Linked DNA regions of Homo sapiens: all the other regions are linked to region 5. The links are contacts of gene promoters, found by promoter capture Hi-C in blood cells and fetal thymus (Javierre and others, 2016). All regions are on one chromosome and are shown on one strand. The core of a region is centred on a gene start or on the middle of the fragment in contact, and the rest is flanking DNA. Distances in the headings are between cores, read along the strand shown.

Region 1 (2,849 bases), core at 212-2,711, 520 kb after region 5:
TTAATGGGATAGAGCTAATCTTTAAAATTGCAATTCAAGAAAATGTCCCTAAAAAACAAAAGAGAACCTTAGTCTGGGCTCAGTGGCTTGTGCCTATAATCCTAGTACTCTGGGAGGCCAAGGTCGGAGGATCACTTGTTGAGCCCAAGAGTTAAAGGCTGCAGTGAGCTATGATCATGCCACTGCACTTCAGCCTGGGCAACAGAGTGAGATCTTGTCTCTAACAAAATAAAAAAATTAGGAGAGGACCTAAACATCTACACTGAGAGACATACTGAGTACATGGGAAATTTGCCCAGAATGCCAATTCTAAAAGACATCATAGTTACATCATTGAAGTTTAGTGGGTTGAATGAACAGTATCCTACCAAACTTCATGTCCACTTGGAACCTTCAGATTGTGAACTCATTTGGAAGCAGGATCTTTGCAAATGCAATTAGTTCAGCTGAGGTCATAGTGGAGTAAGGTGGGCTCTAAATCTAATGACAGGTGAGCTCTAAATCTAATGACTGGTGTCCTTATAAGCAGGGGAGACAGAAAGGAGACTGTCATGTGAAGATAGGCAGAGACTGGCTGGAGTGATGCATCTACTGACTAAGGAATGCCAACAATGTCTGGAGCCACCAGAAGCTGCAAGAGAAAACTTCCTCCAAGCCTGCAGAGAAAGTATGGCCCCACTGACTCCTTGATACCAGACTTCTGGCCTCCAAAACTTTGAAAGAATAATTTTCTGTTGTTTCAAGTTTGTGGTTAACTTGTTACGACAGCCCGAGGAAACTAATACAGAGTGAACCAAAGACTGTATAACTAGCCAAGTAGTCTTTTAAGTATCAAGACTATAGACAAAGTTGTTAGCATGTACTCAGGGAAGATCATACCATGAGTTAGCTCTTCTAAGGTAATCTATTACAGGACAAGCTTTATCCAACCAAGGGGTGACTGAGAAACTCTTAGCAAATGCATTGTCGGTTACCATTGAACAAATTTAACTGTGGATTTAAGGGGAAACCAAAGATGGGAATAAGGTAAAAGAATAAAGGTGTATAAATGGTTTTCTCATACTTGGCTGATAAAAGTTAAAGGACACCATTTAACTCTGACAAGCTGAACAGCAGAGTCGAAAAGTAAACATCAAAAAAAAACAACTGTCTAAAATGAAATGATGGTCAAGGATGAAATATGCTAATTTCACTGACGCTTATAGTAGTGAACCAAGAGACAATGAGACAATGTCTAAAGAAAAGGACTACATGAGTATGTAAAGAAAAAAGGATAAATAAAGGCATTAGTAAAAGCAACAAAAAGAACAAATTTAACTTAAAATAACAGTAGTTGTCTGAACCACACTGAACATATAAAATTCATTAAGATCATAAGAATATTTTACAGAGAGGAAGCCTGTTCCTTCCTGGAAAAACATGTTACCGCTGGAAGGGTTCTATACTCTAACTCCTTACTCTGAAAATTGGTAAATAAAGTAAAAGAATTAAACATTTATCCCGCTTTTCTAGAAGAAACATTTCAGGATAAACAAATTAATTCCAGTTAATAGAGAAAATTCTCTATAGAAGAATTCATGCTAATATATGTAGAAACAACAGAAACAGAAAATCTCATTTTATAACATCTTTAATAGAGCTTAAAACTATTATGCAAAAGGTTTAATAAAACTGGATCTCAAATGATGTCAAAATCTCTCCAGATTACTTGCTAGTAGCAAAAAAATAAAAATTTTGTAACTAAGAGATCAGGTCATGAACACTTTAATCATCTGAGCATCATGAATGGCGAGACAAGTATTGTGTAATATGATGCAGTAGGAAGTATGTGAAAAATACCTACAATGTATTCATGACAAAAATGCTTAACCTCAATCCAATCAAGGATTCAGATCTAATCTGCACTTTTTATAAGAGGATATAAAAATAAAGAAGTTAAATGACACCCTTTGGAAACAATCAGACAAGTCCAAAAGACAGACCATTCTAAAGGAGAAATGACTTAAGCTTCCCAACATCAATGTCATGGGGGGCATAAGGGGCCTAGGGGTTGTTCTAGATTAAGAAACCTTAACAACCTATCAACCAAAATAAATGCTTGTTGGTTGACTGGATCTTGGTTTGAAGCAATCAGCTGTAAAATCCATTTTAGCAGCAATCGGGGAAATGTAAATATTTGATGACATTAGGAAATAACTGTTAATTTTATTATATTAATATACTGTCCTTTTGTAGAAAATCTCCTTACTTTTTAGAGATGCATACTGAAGTATAAGGGTAAAATGTTTATTATGATCCTTATAATTTTCTTTAAGGTACACAGGCCAAAAAATAGGAAAGCAAATATGTAAAACTGTTATCAACTGCTAAATCAGGATGAAGGGGTATATAAGTATTCATTATAATTTTACGTTTGTTTGAAATTATTCATAAAAGTAAAAAAAAATGAAGAGAACAAAACAAAAAATCCTCTTAATCCTTTTCATAAATATTCCAAAAACCAGTTTTACTAAGAAGTGAATTTACAGTGCTTTATCTCTAGAGGTCAGTATTGTGTAAGAGAATAAAAATATTATAGCATATCTCAGTACATACTACCAGAATAATGTAAGAATTGCTGACTTAGTATTTTTAAAAATGTTCTTCATGTTACATAAACTCAATACATTTATTAGTAACACTTACATGAACATAATTATTTCAAGTGTCTAGTACAGTAGGTGCTTAAATAAATGTAAATGATGGATGATAATGAGGTATAGTGGTAAGGCAGAAGAGCAGCTACAAAATGTGTTTATTTTACCTGTAAGATAAGCTTAAAAAAAAAAAAAAAAAAGCCCAGTAGGAAA
Region 2 (2,903 bases), core at 293-2,792, 760 kb after region 5:
AAGCTTGCAAGCGCGTGGCCTGCGAAAGAAGCATCTGAAGAGATGGCATGTCTGGCAGAGGACACATTGGGCAAGATTCCACGTTTGGCAGCAGGCCCGTGAGCGGCGACAGACGCGTATGGGCCTGTGGCAACCTCGGTTCCTGCCTCCTGAGAAGAAAGACATCGAGTGGCACACGGTAGAGTGAGAGACCGAGGCACGCATTAGAGCAGGGGCGAAAGTTCCTGAAATGGTATCGTGGCAGGAGCCAAAGGAAGTCAAGGAGGCTTGGAAGAGGCCCAGGTGGGCGGTGACCTGAGAGGTGGAGTACAGGACTGGACCTTGGACTCAGGGTCTCCCGCGTCGGCAGCATCGCTGCCTGTCCTCTGATGCTTCCCTCGGCGGGGAAGAGGGGGCTGTTCACTAGCACAGTGGCCTGTCACCATCTCATGGGGGCGCGGAGGCGCCGTGTGCTTACTGGAGTTGTTCTCATGCTCTCTTGAGGCGTTCGTCCCACAAGCAGATGAATGTGCCCAGGGGAAAACATCCCAGATCAGTGAACCTTCCACCAGTTTGCCTCTCAGGGTGCACGTATGAGCCCATTCACCCAACTCCCGAGGTGTGCTGGGGAGGCTTCTGAGGTTCGTGACTGCTGTCGGGGAGGGGGACTGCCTTTCCCTGGTGCTGCCTGTGATCAGTGATTTCTCTAGAGAGTCTGCTTCGTGACCACCGGGCCATCACCTTGTGGCTGCCTGATGTTTACTGGTGGTGGGGAACCCTCTCGGGCCCCGCTCCACACGTGTGACTGAGAGGGACACCTGACAGGATTGAACGCGTGGCAGATCATCCGACGAGATGGAGTGTCTGGTGGAAGGAACATCTGACAGCCCTGAGCGTGTGGCAGAGGGAACATCTAAGCAGACTGCAGCGATTTCAGAAGGAACGGCTAAGAACATCGCATGGTCAGCAGGAGGAAACCTTAGGGTAGGGTGATTGCAGGGGTGCTGGGGGGCAAGGGAACCCGTGAGAAGACTGCGGGATCAGCAGTTGGATGCCCTAGGGAGATTGCAAGGCCTGCCCAAGAGACATCTGGGTAGAGGAAGTATTGGGCCCATGGTGCGCCAGACAAAACTGAATGCTTGTCAGGGGAAGAAGTGGACGCAACTGGCTGTTTGGCAGAGGGAACCCTCAGGTAGATTGCACGTTTGGCAGAAGGCCCAAGTGTGAAGATGACATGGTAGACAGCAGAAACCCTTTAGCAGGTCGCACGGTGGGCAGAAGGAACCTCTGAGCAGATTCCATGGTGGGCAGACGGAATGCCTAGGAAGAGTGCGTGGCTTGCAAAGGAAGCATCTGGAAAGAGGGAACATCTGGGAGAGAAAACATCCACCAAGATGGAGCGTTTGGCGGTAGGGATGTCAGCGGTGGCAGATCCATAGGGGCCTGCAGGCAGCAACCCGAGCTCTCACCTCATCAGAGGGAGTTTAACTGAGGGGCGTGAGGCGGAGTGAAAGAGACCGAGGCCTGTTTGAGCGCAGGAGTGCAGGTCTCCCAGATGGTACCAGAGCAGAAAGACGAGGCAGTAAGGTATACTTGGAAGAGGGCCATGTGGGCAACTGGAGAGGTCGGGGGCACGCTTTGTTCGACCTTTGAGGCGAGGTCTCACACATTGGCAGGCTTCCAAGAGCCAGGGGTTGCATTGCTTCCTCCCCTGAGCCTTTTCTCAGGGTGGGCCATCCACATGGGCAGTGGCCTGTCATCACCTGGGAGGGACCGCAGGCGTGGCGTGTTTCCTGGAGTCATAGGGGCGCTCACATGAGGCGTGCCTCCCTTGGCAGTCGGATGTTGCCTGGGGAGGGTCGTAGGACAGTAAAACCCGGCCGGTTTGCCTGTGAGTGTGCAAGCATGAGCCCCGTCACGCGCCCCCTGAGATCTTCTCAGGGAGCTGCTAATCGCCACCTTCCGGGGTTTCTGTCTGTCTGGGGGACCGCCCGTCCCTGGCACCGGCTCCCGGCAATCATTTATTATTTGAGACAGGTAGTTTAATGGCAGCCTGACCCGTCGCCTCCTGGTCGCCTGATGTGTCTGGTGGGGTGTGGGCGTGGCCCTCTCCCGCGCTGCTCCTGTCTGACCAGCCGCCCACGGTAACACAGAAACATCTGGCAGGATGGAGTGGTTGGCGGAAGACACATCTGACGAGATCGAATGTTTTGCAGAAGAGCCATGTGACGGGATCCGTGGTTTGGCAGAGGAGACATGCGAGAAGACGGAACGTTTTGTCCGAATAGACATCTGGCAGGGTGGAACGGAGAGAACAGGTATGGTGGAGAGAACGTCTGAGAAGGTCGCAGGATTCGCAGGAGCATCGGGAAAAGATTGCCTGCTTGCCCGAAGGAATGGCAAGTTCCAAAGGTCAGAGGCTCGCGTGAACTCTGTCGGGTTCGAGAGCAGCTCAGTGTTGCTGGTGGCAAGAGTGTGGTACGGGAATGGTTGGGTGTGGTTTGAATGTCTAGAAAAGGCGAGCTGAGGGTAGATTTTTGAGCGGTCCAGAGCAGAAGGGGTAGAGGATATATTCTGTGGGCCACGGCCACATTCTCAGGATGCTCGTGGCTGTAAATAGTAGATGACCCAAGTAAGAGCGGCTGAAGCCATAGGCACCAGAATTGTGTCAGCATCGTCGTGTCATGCTCATGTTTTCCCTTCCAGCTGTGCTGTGGGCAGTGTTTAGTTCATGTCTGCTTTGCTGGCGGGCCGAGTAGCAACAGCTGCAGTTGGTGTGTTCTCTGAAGGCAGTATCCGAAGGCTGGAGGGGTTGCTTTTCTTCCCAGGTGTCTTTTGAAGAGGCAGTCAAGTCAGCAGCTCGCGGTGAACTTCTGGTAACATCGTATGGGCTGGGTTACAGCACATGCCGACTGCTAAGCCGG
Region 3 (2,793 bases), core at 247-2,746, 660 kb after region 5:
GAACATTGCATGTTCTCACTTATTTGTGGGATCTATAAATCAAATAAACTGAACTCATGAACATAGAGAGTAGCAAGAAATTACCAGAGGCTGGGAAGGGTAGTAGAGGACTAAGGGAGAGGTGGGGATGGTTAATGGATACATAAAAAATAGAAAGAATGAGTAAGACTTACTATATGATAGCACAATGGGTGACTATAGTCAACAATAACTCAATTGTATATTTTTAAATAATTTCAAGAAGGTAATTAAATTGTTTGTAACTCAAAGGACAAAGGCTTGAGGAAATGGATACCCCATTCTTCACATTATATCCCTGTATCAGAACATCTTATGTACCCCATAAATATATACGTCTACTATGTGCCCACAAAACATTTTAAAAATAATTTAAAAATTTTTTAAAGAAAATAATTGTGAATAAATTTCACAATTACAATAATGATACTACCATTTAAAAATGTACAATACAGTTCTTTCACTGATCTCTTGGCTCATCATTTAAATAATTTTAATGATACAGTACTTCTTGAAACTCTAAAGGTACAAATGGGACATGCCCTATGCTCCCTACAAGTATGCAAGGTCAACTGTAAATGACAAAGAGGTAGCAAGAGTGTCAGCATCAGTGCACATAAATTCATATATCAAAGTATATTTTTCTTTCTTGTCTCTTAATTGATGCACTTAATGAACTCTTATGGACACTGCCCATTGCATAAAGTCAAAGATGGCTGGTTAGGTGATAATAAGTGTAAGCTATTATGTGAAGTTCAAAGGAAGTTGTATTGCACTGAAAGTGTTCCTCTGTGAAATCTATATTTTTATTTTATGTTTAGGAAAATTAAAAAGAAAAAAATGCACCACAGGAATCATTGTCATGACATGCTTTTCATATTCTTTTAAAAAACAATCCATCTGTTTTGGCTTCCAGAAAATCTGCCAAGAAATAAAGATGTTGTAATTAACTGTAATGAATATGTTAACAGGAAATATCCACTAAGCTAACACATCATCTTGTCATGCCCTAATGTAATGTACTCCTGGCATTAATGAGAAAGCATTCAAGGAAGGCAGATAAGCTTGAATGCACTTTTAACTGGTCATGCAGCAGTTTTTAACTGCTTGAATTTTGAGACCTTCTTTAAACTTAGACCAAAAGTGTTCTAAGGACTGTTGTTTGGCAGCTGCATTCCTGTAGCATACTATTGATAAAATAGACCAAAAAACATAGGATATTCTGTCCAGGGGATCTCAGTATTTGAATACTGGCTCGATTACCTACTAGTTATATGATAGGGTAAGTTATTTAAACTTTCTGAGGTTTAATGACCTCATTTGAACCATAGGGAAAGTAAAAGTTGTCTTAGAGGGTTTTGTGAAGATTACAAGCAATTAGTGTATGTGAAATGAAGACTCATTAGATCTATTCAGTAAATATTACTTTCCTTTTTCTATATAAGACTATTTATGCATATTTAACCATAGCACCAAATCAACACTCGGCGCAACTTAATATTTTTTTGACAGTATGGAGTTGAAAGGGACTATAGGGCTCTTCTTCCTGGGCAGCTCAGTGGTTCTGCTGTGCTCCCATATAAACAAATGACAATCTAAAAATTACACTAGGGACAATTATCTCTAACTATGTTGGGTTTACTCAGAAGTAAAAATAAGGATTATAATCTGAAATGCACGAAATGGCAAGCCACCAGTCCATTCAGTGAGAGGGTTGTATGGGGACCTTTCACCAGCTAAAAAGAGATTTACTAAGCTGCTTAGAATCAGAGTCCATTGGTTCCAGAGGTTCAAAGCCAGACTGGTTGTCAGTTCATTGGCGGAGATGCCCTTACTGGGCAAGTGTTCTAAGAAAATCTTATCTGAATACTGCAGTTCTAATGTCTAGTGATAAAGCTTATCCAAACAAAATATGCATGAAGGACATGAAAGAGTTTTTAGAAAGTCCTTGGTTCACATTTCAGACACATAAACATGAGTCTTCCCTCTTTTGGGCCTTCCCAGACCTATATTTTCTGGATCTGATGAAAGGGATTCCATCCTGGTATATGCAACTTTCACGCAGACGTTAGAAACCAATACAGTGCAGGTGTTATGAGCCTTTGTTACCACTGAGGGCAGCATGTGGATCCCACAGGTAGGGCACTGTAGTGGTTTGCTATTGTGAATAACTAATTGTCATAAATTCAGTGCTTATAAAAACACTCATTTAATTTCCTGTTTCTATGGGTCAGGAATGGGCCTGGCTTGATTGGGTCATCTGCTCAGGGTCTCCCAAAGCTGCAGTGAAGGTGTCAGCTGCACTGTCGTCCTTGCCTAGAGTGTGGGGTCTTCCTCCAAGCTCATTTTCATGTTGGTGGACTTAAGTTCTTTGTGGTGATACAATTGAGGCTTTCAGCCTAGACAAAGCCCCTCTCCATAGGTGGTTTATACCATGGCTGTTTGCTTTCTTCTCTGAGGCCCCCAGGAGAGTGTGTCTTGGATGCTTCACCTTCTCTCAAAGGCTCCTTTCATTATGCCAGTGTTATCCAGGATTATACTGCTTTTGAACTCAAAGCTAATTGATTATTGGTTAAATCATAATACTGATACTCCAATATAGTCCATTCCACACTCAAGGCGAGGGGATTCTCAGTACATGTGCAAGACAGGCACACATCTTGGAATTCTGCCCACTACAGTCATGTGGCCAGGGCCAGTGAGACATCTTCAGAAAAAAGGCAATCTTCAAAGTGATCTTAGGCTGTGATTCTCAAAGAAGATCTGTGCTTTTTG
Region 4 (2,865 bases), core at 202-2,701, 680 kb after region 5:
GAGTTAACAAATAATTGCCCCTGGCAGATAAGTGACTATGCAAAGTGTTTGCAGTTGTTATTATCTCTCAGTGATAATTGAGATGAATTAATTTTAAAAATTAAAACAGTCTCCAGCACACAGAAATCATTCAACGGTGGTGGCAGTTGTTATTGTATTGTTATAACTTGTAATAGTGTTTTCCATAACTACTTCATTCCAGTCTAGCAGAGATGTATTTGTCCCTTGACTACCAGGTAAATTATAGCTGCATACCTGTTGCTACTGTGAATGCAGGGTAGGAACAACTACTTGGATCAAGCACAATGGTACCCAGGACTGGACTTTTTTCCCTTCCATTAGTCCAGATTTTAACATTCCTAAACAGCAATAACATTCCTAAGTATTTTTGTGACTTCCATGTGCAACTGAGGTCTTGGGCAATGTGAAATGTCCAGATTGAGATGGTGAAGCCCCAGTGTGCCAGGATCAACTCCTCCCTGGGGTGCAAAGATTAAGCTTTCTTAGAATTACGCTTGAAGTCAAGGTGCTAATTTTTTTTTGTCTTTGACAAATTATTATGGAAATGCTGATCTCTGAGTTCTTTGCTCAGAGGAAGCATAAATGAGTGCCAAACAAGAACTTAAGTTATACTTCTGGCATTCTGAAGATGTCAGGTAAAGGGCCAAGGAAAGGAGTATGCCACTTTTCCTATAAGCTGAAGAGGATATGAAATATATGATTCTCTTATATGATTTTATTGATTTAAAAGGTACACTAAGCCACAGAACTAATGGCATTTCTAAAAGTAAGCTTTTGGTTTATTCCCTTTGTCACTGTAGAATACTAGCCATGGGTATATTTATATTTTATTTTATTTTACTTTATTTTATTTTAGACAAAGCTGAAAGAGCACACTGTAACACACATCACACCACTTGGGCAGCCACCCACTCCTAGATGCTACCATGGGACCGGAGCCCCACAGCACGTGCCCCGGCTCCTGCACCTGCCCATCTGCTTGCTCCCCCTCCCATAGGGGGTTTGAGCACACGGTGGCTGAACACAGTAGCCACACCTCTGCCACATGTCCTGCATGGAATATCAGGGAATTCCCCCATCTCAATAATAGTGTGGATTATAACTTATAGAATAAAACAGGTATCCATGACCCCATGTGGATATAAATAAGTGATTGAATAAATACATATATGGGTGAAAAGAGAAGGCTTTCCCTTACAGAATAATTCTAATTAATATATGAAGAAGATATGGAGGAAATACAAAATTACTATTAGGCAAATACCACAAGAATAATTGCTGTAGGCAAGATTCACCAATGGATACTAAAATTAATGTTGGGGAGAAACAGCATATGTAGTCTCAAATTATTTCTCACAAAATATTGGTGAATTATAAAAGAAAAATAGTAATTTTACAGTGGAGAAACTGCACACACTGTCTTAATCAAGTGTTCAAGGTTAGAAATATCAGTAATAAGGCACATTGACAGCATGTATGACCTGATATACTGCACTAAGAAAGGCACAACATCACTTCTGTGCCATTCTCACATAAAATGCATAATCTCAGTCTAATCAATCTCAGTCTAATCATGAGAAATCTAAAGTAAGGACCATTCTATGAAATAACTGATCAGCAATTATCAAAAGTATTAAGGTCATAGCAAACAAGGAAAGAATGAGGATTGGAGGAGGTATTGCCAATTGGAGGGGACTAAAAAGATATAACTGAATACACTGTGGGAACAGAAAAGAAGATTAGCAAAAAACTGGTGAAGTTTGAACAAAGTCTGGCTTGAAGTTTAGTTAATAGCATTATATTAATGTTAATTTTCTGATTTCATTAACTGTGCTGTGATTATGCAAGATGCTAGTATTAGGGAAGTTGGGTGAAGTGTATATGAGAACTCTTTCATCCAAGTGCTAACCAGACCAAACCCTGCGTAGGTTCCGAGATCAGACAAGATCAGGTGTGTTCAGAGTGGTATGGTAGACTATGAGAACTCTTTGTACTATGTCTGTGACTTTTCTATAAATCTAGAATTATTTAAAAGTAAAAAGTTTTTAAAAATTCCTGGCACCTCACTTTGATTATTTCAAAACTTGTTTTAAGCTTTGCTAAGGTTAGTCTATTCCAGTTTTGTCCTTAGTTTTAAGGTTTTGGTCCTTAATTAGTCCTGGGATTAATTAGCACAGGTGTTTTCCCTTTTTTTGTTTGTTTTTAGATTTGAAGGATTTAAAAAATCTTTTTAAATTTAAATCGTTGTTTGGGTACAGGTGGTTTTTGGTCACACAGGTAAGTTCTTTAGTGGTGATTTCTGAGATTTTATTGCAGCCATCACCCGAGCAGTGTACATTGTACCCAATATGTGGTCTTTTATCCCTCACTCTTCTTCCAACCTTCCTCCCTGAGTCCCTAAAGTCCATTATGTCATTCTTATGCCTTTGCGTCCTCATAGCTTAGCTCCCACTTATAAGTGAGAACATATGATATTTGACTTTGCATTCCTGAGTTACTTCACTTAGAATAATGGCTTCCAGCTCCATCAAAGTTGCTGCAAAAGACATTATATCATTTTTTTTTAATGGTGAGTAGTATTCCACGGTGTATATATACCACATTTTTTTTATTGACTCTTTGGTCAATGGGTACTTAGGTTGATTCTATATCTTTGCACTAGTGTTTTCTATTATGTATTTGAACTACAGCTATAAAATAGTGAACTTGTCCTTATTATGTGAACTTTTTGGGGCTTCAATGAAAAGTCTGAATTCCTCTAACTAAGTATTTCTAACTTGGTGAGGCTTTTCCTTTTAACAGTAGGGTGAGCCACATATAGAAGAATTACTTTTCATGCAGCAA
Region 5 (2,899 bases), core at 352-2,851:
AGGCATGATTAAAAGTCAGTCATATTAATTCGCTAACTCACATAATTTAAGTAAATATGATACTACTTTGGGGTCAGTCTGTGTGATTAGAAAAATTAGACTAGAATCCATATAACCTTTATTCAGATGGCAGAGAAAGCTAGGGGAGGGGGCTGAGCCCCTGACATGTTGAGCAGGCAAAGCTCAAAATATGTGTGACTGGGCACAGGGAATTATGGGGTCAGAAAGTGGAGTCTTCTATGTGGCATGTTTTGGATTTTTCTTCCTCCTTCTGTGTCTAAAATTCTTTATCCACAAGATCTATCCTTATATTTGTAGCACTGGCTCAATTTTTAGGCATAGGTTAAAAGCTCATGACTACAGGAGAAAGAAGAAAGATGGGTGAAGGGGATTGTTTCTCCTATTGAAGATGAAACATTTTTCTCATAGTTTAAATATACAACCTTCCTATGTGTCTTCTCTTTAATGCCAAGTTAGCACAGGTCAAAGAAACAAACATTTAACCTGAAATATATACCACAGATATTTGGAAACTGTTCCTTGGTTTTCTCCCCATTTCAAACATCTACATAAGGTAAAATTTCCTCAATTCCAGGTGGAACCCAAAGCAGCTTGGATGAATACATTATTCTCTATGAGCTTTTTAAGTCACCATAAAATTTCAACAAATTTCAAAAGCAATGCAAAGGAATTGTCAGGGGAGCTGGTAAAAGTGAAGCTACCTGAGTCTCGAGGTTGGAGATTCAGACTCAGTAGAGCACCAGAGGTGATTCGACAGCCCATGGGGAACCATGATCAGAATGAAAGTTATTTTGTCCTCAGCTTTTTCTTTCCCCAACCCCCTGTAGTGCAGTGTATCTTTGGACTGTTGTCACCCATTGGACACTGGCCACTTCTCTTGTTCCTTTCTCATAGCCAAATTAAACTGTTGTTTTAGTTACTATTACAAAGGGCAGTTGAAACAGAAGTTGAATTCCAGCATCACTGGCTAGTGAGACAGTTTGAACTCTTTCCTGTCTACGGTTATTTCGCCTTCCTCTCCCCGTACCCCTTTTCCATCCCTTTGCTCTCTCCTATTTACAGGTGAGGGTAGGGAATGAGGGACCTGAGGTTAAGAGAGCTGGGGAACATAAATCTAAAGAAAGGCACCGAAATGTCACTAACAAAAAATTACATTATTTGTGGGAAAGATGGGAAGATGACTGCGTGTGGAGGGGCCCTTAGCTGGGATATGTTAGGAGTTGTGGTGACAGCCATCTTCCTTCTGACAGCCCAGGAGAGAACCCAGTGCTATCCGAGGTGCTGAACAGAGGACTTCTCGGGGTTCCCGAATTCCCAGGGTTAAAACAAACTTGGTTTGTGCGGCGACACCGCTACCCTTACCGGTCCCCAGATAGTCGCGGATCCCCGAAGCTAAGAGCCAGGGCAGGACTTCAGTCAGTGTTCCAGGAACAGCTGAGACACCCAGGTCACCACGGGCTCGCGCCGCTGCGGCTCCGACCCGGTGCGAACCGCCATACGCGCCGCGCGGTGGGCCGGAGGCAGTCCGCGTACTGTTGCGGAAACTCTGTCTCACAAGGTGCGCAACACTCGCCGCGCGCAACACTCACCAGGAAGTTGATGTCGGCCGGGCGCACTAGGCGGTAGCTGCACGTCGCGCAATCCTGGCTGCATTCGGCCCGCACGGTCGCCAGGAGCCCGGGGCCGAGCAACAGCAGCCAAGTGCAAAGTGTCAGGAACCGCGCCATGGACTGCGAGGAGAGAGGGACGCGTGCTTCGAGCCTGCCTGGGCGCAGAACGGGGTCCCTCGGCAGGACCCTCGCCGCGACAGCCTCAGCAGGGGATCGTCGAGCAAAAGCCCGCAGGAATGCTCCTTTCTGGGGCCCCGCCCTCCCGGCCGACAGCTTTTAGGTAGACGTGGAGGCGACTCAGATCGCCTCGCGGTTCCCGGGATGGCGCGGTCGCCCCCAACGCGAGGCTGCCTGGGGCACCCGGCTCTTTTCCTGGGCGTCCGCGGCCCAGGGCAAGATTCCGGAGAGAACGCCGCAGACCAGGGGCGAGAGAGCGGGAGCCGGGGGAGGCAGGACATTGACTGGGGTCACAAAGAAGAACCAGGGAACGCTGTTGGGGAACCCATGCAATGAAATGTGAAGGGAAAGAGGGCGGGCAGACGTCCCCAAACCCGCTCAGCAAAGACAAGCTTCGGGCAAATTCACTCACGTTGACGCTGTTCGGATGGAGCAGGCCAATTGGAAAAGCCGGGTTCAGACACGACTCTAGAGGGAAGAGAAGAAGGCAAGTGTGAGGAGGGCGGGCGTCGGGGAGAAGCGGGCCCGGGTGTGCTGGCGGACGTAGGGCCTCACCGTCGCGGTCCTCAGCGTCTCTGCGGGGTCACGGGCCAGGCTGCGGGGCTCTGAGCGCCTGCCTCGCCGTCCCGGGGCTTAACGGCTGCTGGAGCCACTTTATAATTAGCCCCAAACCGAAGGAGGCGCGCGCGCCCCAATCGCCGGCGGGCTGCAGCTGACGCAGGCCCTACGCCAGCCCCGCGCCGACGCCTTCGCGGGAGGGGTCGGTCCCCCAGCACCCGCGCGCCGCTCCCCCCGCCGAGCTCGGGTGGGGGCCACAGGGGGCGCTCGGTGGCTCCCCACACGGCCAGGTGACAAACCCAAGGCAGTTAGGAAGTTTGGGGAGAGTGAGATAGGATCAAGTTTCTCCGCATAAAGTCACTGAAATTGCACCGTGGGATGCGGGCTCCAGGGAGGGAAGCGAGGTGGGGGCGTTTGGAAGGATAGATGGACTGGCTTAGACTTCTGGAATGTGCTGGAGACCCAGCGGGCCGGTGAACCTGCCCCTTTCCCGCCTCCTCCCTGGGCCCCCTCGCGGGTCCCCGTGGGCACCA
Region 6 (2,700 bases), core at 186-2,685, 570 kb after region 5:
GAAACCAGAAATCACTTTGATTTTTTTCAAATCTGTGAAACATATATCCTTATGCATTTGAATTGGCTACTTTTCTTTCACCCTTTGCCAAGTTTTCCATGAGATAGTTTTTAAAATCAACTTAATATTGCTTGGGTCATATGAGCTTCATGATAAACCCTATGATCATTAACATAAACAGGAATGTGGCAAAGAAAAAATTAAGAACCTCTGTCTCAACATGAAGCCATAAGGCAGGGTTTTGTTTTGTTTTGTTTCTAATGAGGTAGTGATATAATTATGGTTAAGAGTGTGGGCTTTAAAGTCAGAAATTCAAGTTGGATCATATGAAGGCTCACTCAGTTTTAAACTACATAAACTTCAGTTGGGTTCTTAATCCCTCTAAGCTTTAGTTTGTGCATCTGTAAAAGTGGCTAGTAATAATAGCTACCACATGCATTGATGTGAGAATTAAATTCTATAACGAGTGCTTAATACAGAGCTGATCATACAGCAGGTACCTAATTAAAAGCTACCATTATTTTTATTATGTTTATTGTGTTTTCTGACTTAGGAATATTGCAAAAGATGAATTAAGGTGTTAGACAACTCCTCTTTTTGTTTTTCCCTGTAAAGGCTCATCTACTCTCATGTCCTGCATTTATATTTATATTTGAAAAGTGACAAACCCCCTAGACGGGCAGATATTCAAGTATTATTTCAATGTAAACCCTCAGCTGCCTCTTTCAGTTTTACTGGTCTTCCCTATTATTTGCAGTTTCTGCAAAGTATGGTAATTTATATGAACCAGAAAGACTTTAGAGCCTTTTAAATCTATTGTATTTGTTTAGTCTGATAATGATTTGGAATTAAGATACCTATTTTCCAGGTTTAGCGATACTCTACCTATCTCATGGGTTTTATATTAGGATCACAAGAAGTAACAAATGTTAAAGTGCACTGAAATTAGACTATACGAGTATCATAACAGCTACATAAAATAAAGTTATAAAATAGATAAAACTATGCCTGCATAATTTTGCTATTAAATATATGTTTAAATACATTAAGGATTTAAAACAAAAATTTATATATTACTGATTGGGGATAAGTTTGAAGAATTTATCTTGTTTCGTGATTGCTTGAGTTTCTATTGATGCTTTTGTATTTTGCTTTTGTAGATTTTATTAACATCATTTGAAAAATCTTTGGATCATTTATTTAGATTTTTAAGATAGGGTTTAGGAGACATTTATTCTGGCCAAGATTGAATAACAGGGACTAATTCACACTCCTGCCTAAACAACAAAAAACCTGGACAAAATATATAAAAACAATACTTCTCAGACATTCAACAACAGGAAGCTCATGATCCTGACTCCCAAAAGAAGGGAAGTAAGCAAGGTGAGGCTTGCGGTCATCTCTGTTTTCTGCTGCAGGCATTTAGTGAATTTTGGCACAGGAAGGAGTGAAGCAGGAACAGGGCCATATGAGGGAAAGTCCAGTGAGATCCAGAAGATGCAAAATTTAGAGAGATGTTTGCTGCCAGGGCCGTGCAGGCACAGAATTAGCCCAGAGGAAGAAGAATGTGGAGTCCTCCTTGAGCTGGGGAAGGTTAGGTGACAGGAATTCATAAGAAAGAGTCCAAAGTAAAAGGGATGATGCAGAAAAACAGTTCCAGATACCTGCATTGAGTACTCTTGACTTTCTGACTGATTATTCAGTTCTGCAGGTATAGAGTGACCCCAAGTGAATGAGAAAGGAAACATTATACAGGGCAGAACATTACTGTAGATAACATTGGGCTGGTTGTGGATATTGAGTTCTAGCCAACCAGCTAAAGCAACCATGCTGAACAACCAGAACATTCAGTAGAGACCAAAGAGCTGTCATTACTTAAGAGGAGAACCAAAGTAGTTTTAGAGTAAAGGCTAATCCAAACTCATCCTAACAAACCTAAAAACAAGTTTCAAAAGGGTCAAGTTGTTCTGCAATTAAATTAACTGCCTACCGGAAGAAAATGTGACAATTTTTAAAAGAAGTTAACAAAACTAGACAAACAACATTATATTAACAATAATAAGCACCCAATTAAAATTAGTACAGAGGTGAAGAAGCAGAAAAATGTCACATACAGAGGAGAAAAATCAGTTAATAGAGTCAGACTAAGAATGACATAGGTGACAGAATTAGCAGTCTAAAGGAAACATTAAAATAATGAAGAAAGAAATAAAATTTTCACTAAATTTAAGAAGATTGAAATTAAACAGGCAATGTTTTCTGACTATACCAGATTCAAGTTAAAAATCAATAACCAAAAGATACATGGAATATATCCAAACACTAGAACGTTACACACACACACACACACACACACACACACCTTAATAACACATGGGTCAAATAATCACAAGAAACATTAAAAAAATTTCAAACTGAATGATAAGAAAGCACAATATATCAAAACATGTGAGACATAAGTAGAGCAGAGCATAAAGCAAAATGTAAAGCTTTAAATTACTGTTAGAAAAAAGACTAACATTAATAATCTAAGCTTCTGACTTCATAAACTAGAAAAAACAACAATTTGAATTTAATAATAAGTAAAAGAAGGAACTAATAAATGTAGAAGCTAAAATCAGTAAAATTTTTAAATTGAAATAATATAATTCTGTAAACTCCTTCAGAAAATATAAGTTGATACTTTCCAACTCATTTTAT

The links. The method cuts DNA at HindIII sites, captures the fragments that hold promoters and counts their contacts. A CHiCAGO score of 5 or more calls a contact.
Region 1: a contact is called between a fragment that was not itself captured here and the fragment with the promoter of PENK-AS1 in region 5, in 1 of 17 cell types (naive B cells). The highest score is 6.2, in naive B cells.
Region 2: a contact is called between a fragment that was not itself captured here and the fragment with the promoter of PENK-AS1 in region 5, in 1 of 17 cell types (erythroblasts). The highest score is 6.0, in erythroblasts.
Region 3: a fragment that was not itself captured here is called in contact with the fragment with the promoter of PENK-AS1 in region 5 in 2 of 17 cell types (naive B cells and total B cells); the score reaches 8.8 in naive B cells.
Region 4: a contact is called between a fragment that was not itself captured here and the fragment with the promoter of PENK-AS1 in region 5, in 1 of 17 cell types (M2 macrophages). The highest score is 5.3, in M2 macrophages.
Region 6: a contact is called between a fragment that was not itself captured here and the fragment with the promoter of PENK-AS1 in region 5, in 1 of 17 cell types (naive B cells). The highest score is 5.3, in naive B cells.

Annotation. Positions count from the first base shown.
Region 1 is chr8:56,968,452-56,971,300 of GRCh38, forward strand. The region is part of intron 3 of BPNT2 (3'(2'), 5'-bisphosphate nucleotidase 2); the gene reads right to left. Among named protein-coding and RNA genes, the nearest start is that of BPNT2, 24 kb to the right of the region's middle. The HindIII fragment of the contact is 1,088 bases long and covers 918-2,005 here.
Region 2 is chr8:57,205,814-57,208,716 of GRCh38, forward strand. No RefSeq gene overlaps it. Among named protein-coding and RNA genes, the nearest start is that of LINC01606, 11 kb to the right of the region's middle. RefSeq lists an enhancer at 1-232. The HindIII fragment of the contact is 3,082 bases long and covers 2-2,903 here.
Region 3 is chr8:57,105,618-57,108,410 of GRCh38, forward strand. No RefSeq gene overlaps it. Among named protein-coding and RNA genes, the nearest start is that of LINC01606, 110 kb to the right of the region's middle. RefSeq lists an enhancer at 2,118-2,704. The HindIII fragment of the contact is 832 bases long and covers 1,081-1,912 here.
Region 4 is chr8:57,124,763-57,127,627 of GRCh38, forward strand. It overlaps the pseudogene RNA5SP266. Among named protein-coding and RNA genes, the nearest start is that of LINC01606, 92 kb to the right of the region's middle. The HindIII fragment of the contact is 1,323 bases long and covers 791-2,113 here.
Region 5 is chr8:56,444,206-56,447,104 of GRCh38, forward strand. PENK-AS1 (PENK antisense RNA 1) reads left to right here and starts at 1,602. Exons shown (of 4, transcript NR_125813.1): 1 at 1,602-2,295. PENK (proenkephalin) reads right to left here and starts at 2,436. Exons shown (of 4, transcript NM_001135690.3): 1 at 2,364-2,436; 2 at 2,221-2,276; 3 at 1,611-1,751. The coding sequence starts at 1,748. RefSeq lists an enhancer at 1,207-2,098. The HindIII fragment of the contact is 3,142 bases long and covers 1-2,198 here.
Region 6 is chr8:57,016,238-57,018,937 of GRCh38, forward strand. No RefSeq gene overlaps it. Among named protein-coding and RNA genes, the nearest start is that of BPNT2, 24 kb to the left of the region's middle. The HindIII fragment of the contact is 2,103 bases long and covers 385-2,487 here.